Regions from separate parts of the Homo sapiens genome. Here region 1 is linked to region 2. The links are contacts of gene promoters, found by promoter capture Hi-C in blood cells and fetal thymus (Javierre and others, 2016). All regions are on one chromosome and are shown on one strand. The core of a region is centred on a gene start or on the middle of the fragment in contact, and the rest is flanking DNA. Distances in the headings are between cores, read along the strand shown. Region 1 has its middle 33 kb from the start of MYL12-AS1. Region 2 holds the start of THOC1 (THO complex subunit 1).

Region 1 (4,490 bases), core at 576-3,075, 3.0 Mb after region 2:
TGCAAAAGCTACAAATCAGGACAAGTTGTTCATGCTACCTCCAAGTACACTATCAGGCAGGCTGCTCTAGAGTTCATAAAAGAGACAGGGTGAGAGAAAATTGCAAAGACGCTGGAATCACAAGGTTTATTTATGTTTTCTTTTCTTTTTTGAGACAGGGTCTTGCTCTGTCACCCAGGCTGGAGTGCAGTGGTGTCATCATGGCTCATTGCAGCCTCATCCTCCTGGGCTTAAGCAATCCTCCCACCTCAAACTCCCTAGTAGCTAGGACTACAGGCACACACTAGCATGCTCAGCTAATTTTTTGTTTTTATTTTTGTTTTAGAGACAAGGTCTCGCTATGTTGCCCAGGCTGGTCTTGAACTCCTGGGCTCAAGCAGTCCTCCCACCTCAGCCTTCCAAAGTGCTAGAATTACAAGTTTGAGCCACCATGTCCAGCCTATGTGTAAATTTTAAACACAAAGCAAGAAGCAAGTGGAAACTGAGATAAGTTATCACACTAAGGATAGGATCCAAGTTGGATGTAAGAGCCATACAAAAAAAATCCTGAGTCACACAATGTTCATATCCTATCTCTCTCACCTACAAAGACACATCAGAATTTCCTACTGATGGCATGGTCTGATGCAGTGACCAGAGTCAAGGGTGAGCAAGGAGACTCAGCAAATTGAAGGTGCCTGAAGCCAACACATGCTTCCTCTTTCAAAGAGATGGAGGACAAGGAGCCTGTGCACAACTGAAATTCACCAATGAAGTGCTGAGGAGCTGTGGATTTATCTGCATATCTTGGACAGAGGTCACCTGGGGCAAGAATAGCTGTCACGATTCAGCAGCTGATTTAAATATGACATAGCTGTCATTCAGGAGGATACATGATCTGTGATTTTACTAATATTTTAGGTTTACTTGGTCCTTCTATCCTTTCCTATCTACAAGTAGCACACTTGGTATTTCCATTCTTTTAATCTATGCTTACCAAACATATGTTCTGTATATGCTATTTATGTTTAACCTAAAAGATTTCTAACTTAGTACATTTGCTATCATTCCTCAACATGTTTTATGAGTGTCACCTATTGTTCTACTTGTTTGTTTCTCTTGTTAATTTCAGAAGAATTGAATATTCTCAAATACTACAGAAAAATCACATTATAGAAGTAACGATAGCATAAATAGACTTTTTGTACTCAACACTTGGCTGTAATGGAAAAGAGAAAAAAAAGTTATTTGCTATAGGGATTTACAGAATCATGGGAAGCTTAAAAAAAAAGAAGCTGAAGATAAAGAACAGCCAGAGACAGAAGTTAATTGATGAAGCATGATTACTGAGAGAGAATAAAAGGTGGAGGGAGAATTGGTAGGAGATCGTATTCTCTTACAGGAGAAGAGGGAAGGAATAATGGGTGGCAATGCAAATATGTATCCAGTGGTGGGTGGGATTCACCAGGTGTGTTTCAGTTTACTTTGTGAAATAATTTGGCTCTTAAATAAGTACTTCCAGGCACTGGTTGATTGATTTACAAATGTTTACTTTTTATTAAGTGTGGTGTGGTGGCCTTGTAATGTATTGACTTGGCTAAGCTGAACTACGTTTTCCACAATTTTGTTTCTTGTATGTTTCTGGTTATGGTGGGCCATGAGGGAGATTCTTGTGAGATTCAGAAAGCAGATGGGAAGCTGCAGTCATTTTGTAGCTCACACACATTGTTGCTGATCTGCTGACTCACCTCATCAGCATGAAGCGGCAGCTGGGCCTGCTCTACCTTCCACTGGGTTTTCCCTCAGCTTCCCTGACTCCTGGGCCTGGTGTGTGTGTGTTTAGTTCCATGAGGTTGGGTCCCCACTATCAACACCAGAAGGAATATGAACTGACATGAGTTTCAATTTGTCCTGCTGGGTTCTAGTTCATGCTGTGGGTTCCAGTCTTTTCTTGATCTTCCTCACTTTATATCCATTGTCGCTTTCCAACTCTCTGCCCTCTGGACTTCAAGCTCCAGTACCAGATGAAAGGACTACAGTCTTACAGAGACTCTTTAACCAGTTCCAACGTTTGTGGAAGGCTGTATTTCTATGAAATAATATCCTCAGATCATGCCTGACTTTATGTTAATGATATCACTCAGGATAGGGGCTGGACATGCCACAAAAGCCATCCATGTGACTGGAGGGTTGGGGCTTTGAGCAATGTGGATATCAGCCTGACTTCTGACCTCTGACCCCCAGGAAGGAGCAGGGGGCTGGAGACTGAATTCGATCACACTGCCAATGATTCAACCAATCATGCCTACAAAATAAAACCCAAATAAAAACTCTGGACATGAAAGCTAGGGGAAACTTCCAGGTTGATAATCATACATCAGTGTGCCAGGAGGATGACAGGTCCTGAGCATAAAGAAGCTTTGAATTTGGGACCCTCCCAGACTTTGCTCCCTGCACCTTTTCATTTGGATGTCCCTGGTTTGTGTCTTTTATAATGAAACACTAAGCCTAAGTATAGTGCGTGCCTGCATTCTGTGAGTTGTTCTGGTCCATTATTAAACCTGAGGAGTTAGTGGGAATCCCTGCATTTGTGGTCAGTTGGTCAGAAGCACCGGTGGCTCAGGAACCCTGGAACATATAACAGCTGGTATCTGGGGTAAGAGGCATCCTGTGAGTGGCTGTTCCCTTAACCTGTGAAATTTGACCTTACTCCAGGTCAGGATTGTATTGCAAAGAGAAAATAATGTATGGATCCCCTTGTAGGCATCACCTAGCTTCAATAATAATCAGCTCATGGCCAAACTTGTTTCATCTATAACCCCTCCCATTTTCCTTTCATCATTATCCCTCAGCCCTCTTACCTGCATCACTAGATTACTTTGAAGTAAATCACTGACAAATCATTTTGTCAGCAAATCACTGATATTTGTTCATACATATTAAAGCAGATATCTCTAAAACAAAAGACCGCTTCCCCTCCCACTTTTTTTTTTTTTTTTTTTTTTGAGACAGAGTCTCACCCTGTCACCCAGGCTGGAGTGCAATGGCGCTATCTCTGCTCACTGCAACCTCCACCTCCCAGGTTCAAGCGATTCTCCTGCCTCAGCCTCCTGAGTAGCTGGGATCACAGGCGGGCGTCACCACGCCCGGCTAATTTTTTATATCTTTAGTAGAGATGGGGTTTCACCATGTTGGCCAGGCTGGCCTCGAACTCCTGACCTCATAATCTGCCTGCCTTGGCCTCCCAAATGCTGGGATTACAGGCGTGAGCCACCGCGCCCGGCCTCCCCACCTTTTTTTTAAGAGACAAGTTCTCACTCTGTTGCTCCCAAGATGGCAGATTGGAGGCAGTGTTAGCATGCCTCTTCCACTTGGAAAGACAAGATAGTGTGTAGAGACTCACACACTGTGAACTTTTCTCCTAGAAGCAACACAGGAACTTAACAGGAGAACTGAAAGAAGCCACTGACCCTTTGAAAGAAGCACTGGGCTGCAGCCTACACCATAAGCCAGTGGAAAACTAAGTTCCCCAGAGTGAAAGAGGAATAAATTGCCTCTGGAACATACACTCCCACTTGGGAATCTGGCAATAGAGGCCCATGAGGGAAGAACTTAACCCTATCCAGCAATGGAGCTGATTTTAGTGAGCAGTGGGGAATGTATGAGAAAAAGCATCATTGGGACGGGCTTTGCATGCACTCCCAGGCTCCAGTGAGGATGGAGGGAAGACATTCCCGACCCTACCTCACAGAGGACTGTGCAGAAATCTGCCAGCTAACTCAGACAGCAGTCACAGGTTGGCAGAAGTTCCCAACTGGGTTCACAATATAATGCCGAATGGGGACAAACCCCCTTGGGCAGAACCAAGGAGTGACTGGGAAATGTGCTGCAGCCACGGGTGCAGGAGCTGGGCGCCCCTGCTTCACGGGCAGACTGGGAGGGGCGTGGCTTGAAAGCATTGGTTGTTCTCTCCTTCAGGAAGGCTTATGGCATGGGGCAGTCTTGAGTTCTGAATGCGGACTGCCTGGATTCTAACGAGCTGCTGCAAGCGGAACCCTGCGGGTGAGGGACCGGCCTTGCCAAGTGCATGGGCGCTGGTGGGGCTTACTGCCGCCTGCTACTCCCCAACCCCTGTAGAGAGACTTCTGTGCAGCAGAGGCAGCTGCACCCCTCCCTGCAACATTACCCCTGCGGCCAGAAAAATGCTCTCTGACCCCCACAGGGGCCACTGCTTACCCCGCATGTGGGGAGCCACAGCGTGAACCTGCCTGATCCAGCCGCCACCTGGCTTTGCTCCTTCACTTGCTCTGGTAGCTTAACACAAAGGACAGAAATTTTTTGGCGCTCTATGGCCCCACCCATTACCTGAGTCACCAGAGTACCTCCCCTGGGTAACATGAGGCAAGCACAAATCCCACTGCTACTACGGCAGCTGGTGCTCTTTGGCAAGCGCCACCTTCTGGCTGGAGGCCAATTGACAGTCCATTACAGCATCTCCAAGTAGTGTAACA
Region 2 (4,536 bases), core at 1,091-3,590:
CCTCATCACTTTAAATCTGGCAAGAGCTTCCTTGCTGGACTTTTTCATTCTAGGTGATATTTCTGTCTCTTTAAATATCACATTCATGAGTATTGTGCTTACAAAAAAAAAAAATCTCCATATGGCTCCTTATTTGCCCGTTTTAGTTTTGAAGCTTCATAGATCCCTCAAGGTCCTTGATAATGTTATCCCAATTTACCCAAACTTAATTCCCAATACTCCCTAACACATACTTTGCACTAAAGTCTAGCCATTTTTCATCACTTTATATCAAACTCATTCTACTGTATTCACACATTCATGTTGCTCTTCCTACCTGCTCATCCAAATTCTATCCATTCTCCCACACCCATGTCAGGTCTCGCCTCCTGGAGGTATCTTGTTCAGTCCCTGACACGTAGCACTCAATAAAACCATGCTGACAATCTGTAGATTGTTTTAAAGTAATCATAACTTAAAGACAAAAATATTGCAAAAGGCATTCATTCTATGAACACTCACATACACTTAGAAAGTCATCTTATTACCTCACAGGAATTAGATCTATCCTAAATGTGTCCATTCCTTGCTCTGCCACTAACAGGCTGAGTAATTTGGGGCCTGTTCCTTTATCTCTTTGTGCTTCATTTTCGTCACCAGTTAAATAAGAGGGTTTTTGTAGATTTTTACTACCAGCAGCAGCTACAGTGGCATCACCTAGGAAGCTGGTAGAAATGCAAAATCTCAGGCTCCCTTCCACACTTACTGAACAAGAATCTGCATTTCACAAGAAGCTTGAGAAACACTGAACTAGATGATCTCCAATTTCATGGTCCTTTTCAGGGCTAGTATGATTTTTTTTTTTTTTTTTGAGATGGAGTCTCCCTCTGTTGCCCAGGTGTTGTGCACTGGCATGATCTTGGCTCACTGCAACCTCCGCTGTCCGGGTTCAAGCGATTCTCCTGCCTCAGCCTCCCAAGTAGATGGGATTACAGCGCCCACCACCACGCCTGGCTAATTTTCGTATTTTTAGTAGAGACGGGGCTTTGCCATGTTGGCCAGGCTGGCCTTGAACTCTTGACCTCAGGTGATCCGCCCGCCTCGGCCTCCCGAAGTACTGCATTTACAGGCGTGAGCCACTGCGCCCGGCCGCCAATATGATCTTGGATAGTCCTAACAGTTACTCTTAGCAGGCTTTCAAAGCACCAGAGATTGCAGCAAAACGCACACAAAGAAAATGATTATGATGACATACACAAAATATAATCCATTTAAAAAAAACCTCACACTGTGTGTGTGTGTATATATATATTATACGTATACGTATATATATGTATATATATATATATATAACCCTGCAAACAAGAAAACTACTTACTACAAAGGATGAATTTTTCTTTCACACAATTTTCATCCTGGCATCCCTATAACTACCAAAACACAGCCGAATATCTGAGAAATGTTGGTGCAAATGCTAGAGACGAATAGAGTCAGGCAACTTAAAAGTGTTCTTCATACTTACGTTGCTGTGACGAGCAACATAAAAAGAACAGAGTGTCTAAAGTCAGAAAAACCACTGAAGTCACAACTTTTTGGGGGGTGTCAGCTTCTACCTCATGTACCAGGAATAACCAACTTAGCCTACTTCACAGTGTTACTCTAATAGTTAAATGAGAAAGTGATCTGTCAAGTGTTTCCCAAATGCTCAAAACCACCCTTCCACATTGAGCAAGAATAAAATAGCATCTGGTTACCCTTCCCAAGGTGATCTATCTGCCTTTTCCCGCTTAGGATCTCATCGATCGCTTAGGAGTTAGACACGGTGGGTTAAGGGGTGGTGAAGAGACGGCGGGAACAAGCACTTGGTAGCTCAGAAGGCTAGGGCGGGAGCCAGGTCTTTGGACTGAAACCACTCCCACCCTCCCCCTTCAGCAGCTCCCCTTCCCCTTCTCGAGACACCTGCCCCACTAAACGAGCTGAGAGGATGGACCCAACCAGCAGTAGTCTGCAGGTGGGCACTCCAAGCGGGGAGCCGAGGCGCCCAGCACGCAGTCCGGGGACCCGCTGGAGGGTGGGCGGAGGCGGACGGCCCAGCCCACAAAGAAGAGGCGGGTAGTGCGTCTTTCCCTACCCCTCAACCTCCGACGGGGCCCGGAGCGGACGCTGAGGCGGACACACCTCTGTCTCACTTTACCCCAGGGCAAAATTCGAGTAATTTCAGGGAGAAGAGGACAAAGCATAGCGCCGGGTCAGGCCTGCACCCTCCCCTCTACAGCTCACCGTAAACCGCGTCCGCGCTTCGGGCAAACTGAAGAGCGGCGGCGTCGGAGACATCTTCTCGGCTGCGCGTGCCCGCCACTGCGCTGCGGCGCCTGCCGATGACGTCAAGCCAGGAGCAACGAGACTGCGGTCTCTCTGAGCCCGGCTAGAGTGGCCTGTGAACACCGGTCGGGCGAGCTGGCAGTTGGGAGTTTCCCTAGCGACTCAGTTCGGGTGGGCGTTGGGCGCCTGAGTCAGCCAAACAGCCTACTCGGGGTTCTTGGGTAGCCTTTGGGGTGAGGGGACTTGGGCGGCCTTGGTCTGTAAGCTCTGCGTTCCCGGGCGTGGAAGAGACTGGCCGCGCACATGCGTTTCTGTGGTTTTCCTGGTTTGGGGAAAGCGGGTAAATGGTGGCTGGTTGCGGCTAACTGGGCCGCGCTAAAAGGTAACCCAAGGCAGGTGGATTACCTGGGGAAACAGCTGGAGCAGTGGTCCTGGGCCGCCAGTCCGCGGTCATCCCGGGAGCTTAAGATGCGGAGTGGTGATAGGCTCCGGATGTATGAGCCCTGTGGCTCAAGGGCGCTGTTCTCTCTGCTCCGAAATAGAAATAATACCTGTCTCACAGAGCTGTTGAAAAGCTCCACTGAAATAATGACCGCAAGTGTGAACTGTAAAGCAATGTAAGTAGTATTTATTATTAAAAGGTCTCTACTGAAAGAAAGAGACCTAGGAGGAATGCAGTGCCCGGCGCTGATTGGAAAACGGGTGGCGCTGCGTCCTGGGCCGAGGCTTCCCTAGCGAAAACCTTGTCTCCCTCCATTTCGTCCCTTGCCTGCCTTCCCAGGAGAGACGTGGCCGATAGAAGCCGAGTGGCAGTAACTCTAAGTTGGAGTTACACGGTGGAGAAGGAAGCACTGACTCAGACTCGGGTAACTTCCTCTTATTCCCTCACACGTGTATCTTGTTCCCTTCTTCGAAGTCTGTAAATTTAAAATCCTAAGCCCCCCAACAACTGAACAGACCCCCGTGAGGCCAAGGGGACACCAGCAAAATCTTAACAACTGAGTTCCCAGTCATAACGGGATGGGAGGTCAGACGGACCTGGTTATACCCTCTCCCTTTTGTGATTTAGAGGAGATAGCTGACTGGCCATAAAGTTAAAATAGAGGCCAGGCGCGGTGGCTTACGCCTGTAATCCCAGCACTTTGGGACGCCGAAGCAGGTGGGTCACCTGAGGTCAGGAGTGGATCACCTGAGGTATGGCAAACATGGTGAAACGCTGTCTCTACTAAAAATACAAAAATTAGCCGGGCGTGGTGGCACGCACCTGTAATCCCAGCTACTCAGGAGGCCGAGGCAGGAGAATGGTTTGAACCCGGCAGGCGGAGGTTGCAGTGAGCGGAGATCGTGCCATTGCACTCCAGCCTGGGCGACAAGAGTGAAACTCTGTTTCAAAAAAAAAAACGGAGATGATAGGACTGACGGAATTGACTCCATGGCAATAAGATACCAAAGTATAAACAGGACCTAAGCCCATGCCAAGCAAGGGTTAAAAGTCATGCATCCCTACGCTTGAAAAATAAACTATGTTCTCACTATGCTTCAAGGTTTTTCTTTAGCAGCTAAACAAGCGCTGGCCTCACAGTATTAAAACAATTTGCAGTTCATCGACCACCAGACACTAACAACCCTCTCCCACCAGCCGTAACTACAGCTTTTATTGATTTCAGTTACTTTCTCCTGATAAGAAGGTCACTGACCATGGACTTGTTCTGGCCAATTTGTAGTGATTGCATGCTTACGTAACTTCCTGAAAAGATATTTTGATGTATAGGACCAAACTGTAAATACATTTAAATGTTAAGTCTCCACCCCAAAGTGAACATGGATTGTCTGTTAAACATGCATATTTGTTTAATATGCATGTGTCAAGACCACTTTCATGAATATTCATAGCCGCTCCTCTAACTTGTTGAATATGTATGTTTAGCCAACCAGTTAAGCATAAAGTTCCTACTCCAACTCCTCCTCTGAAGTGTCTGTATGTGGTCTTGGCTGGAGGCATGCTTCCCAGCCTGCAGAATGGCCACCTTGCAGGCTGTAACTCCTTATAAGAAACAAAGTCTCTCCTTTTCTAAATCTATAGATCTTATGATTTTTTAGTTAACATGCACAATAAGAATACAGGAAGCTAAGGAAAAGATAACTGCAGAATCTTACTCCTAAGTGGGAATTGTGAACAATAATGACTACCTGAAATGTTACAGGCTTTTTAAGAATCAGCAAGATCATTCAGGT

The links. Contacts are between HindIII fragments. The CHiCAGO score rates a contact against its expected background, and 5 or more counts as called.
Region 1: a fragment that was not itself captured here is called in contact with the fragment with the promoter of THOC1 in region 2 in 1 of 17 cell types (total CD4 T cells); the score reaches 6.0 in total CD4 T cells.

What each region holds. Positions count from the first base shown.
Region 1 is chr18:3,293,150-3,297,639 of GRCh38, forward strand. No RefSeq gene overlaps it. Among named protein-coding and RNA genes, the nearest start is that of MYL12-AS1, 33 kb to the left of the region's middle. RefSeq lists enhancers at 1,602-1,896, 4,057-4,136. The HindIII fragment of the contact is 1,139 bases long and covers 1,257-2,395 here.
Region 2 is chr18:265,707-270,242 of GRCh38, forward strand. It overlaps THOC1 (THO complex subunit 1), which reads right to left and starts at 2,341. Exons shown (of 21, transcript NM_005131.3): 1 at 2,260-2,341. The coding sequence starts at 2,313. RefSeq lists an enhancer at 2,210-2,679 and a silencer at 3,070-3,249. The HindIII fragment of the contact is 5,170 bases long and covers 772-4,536 here.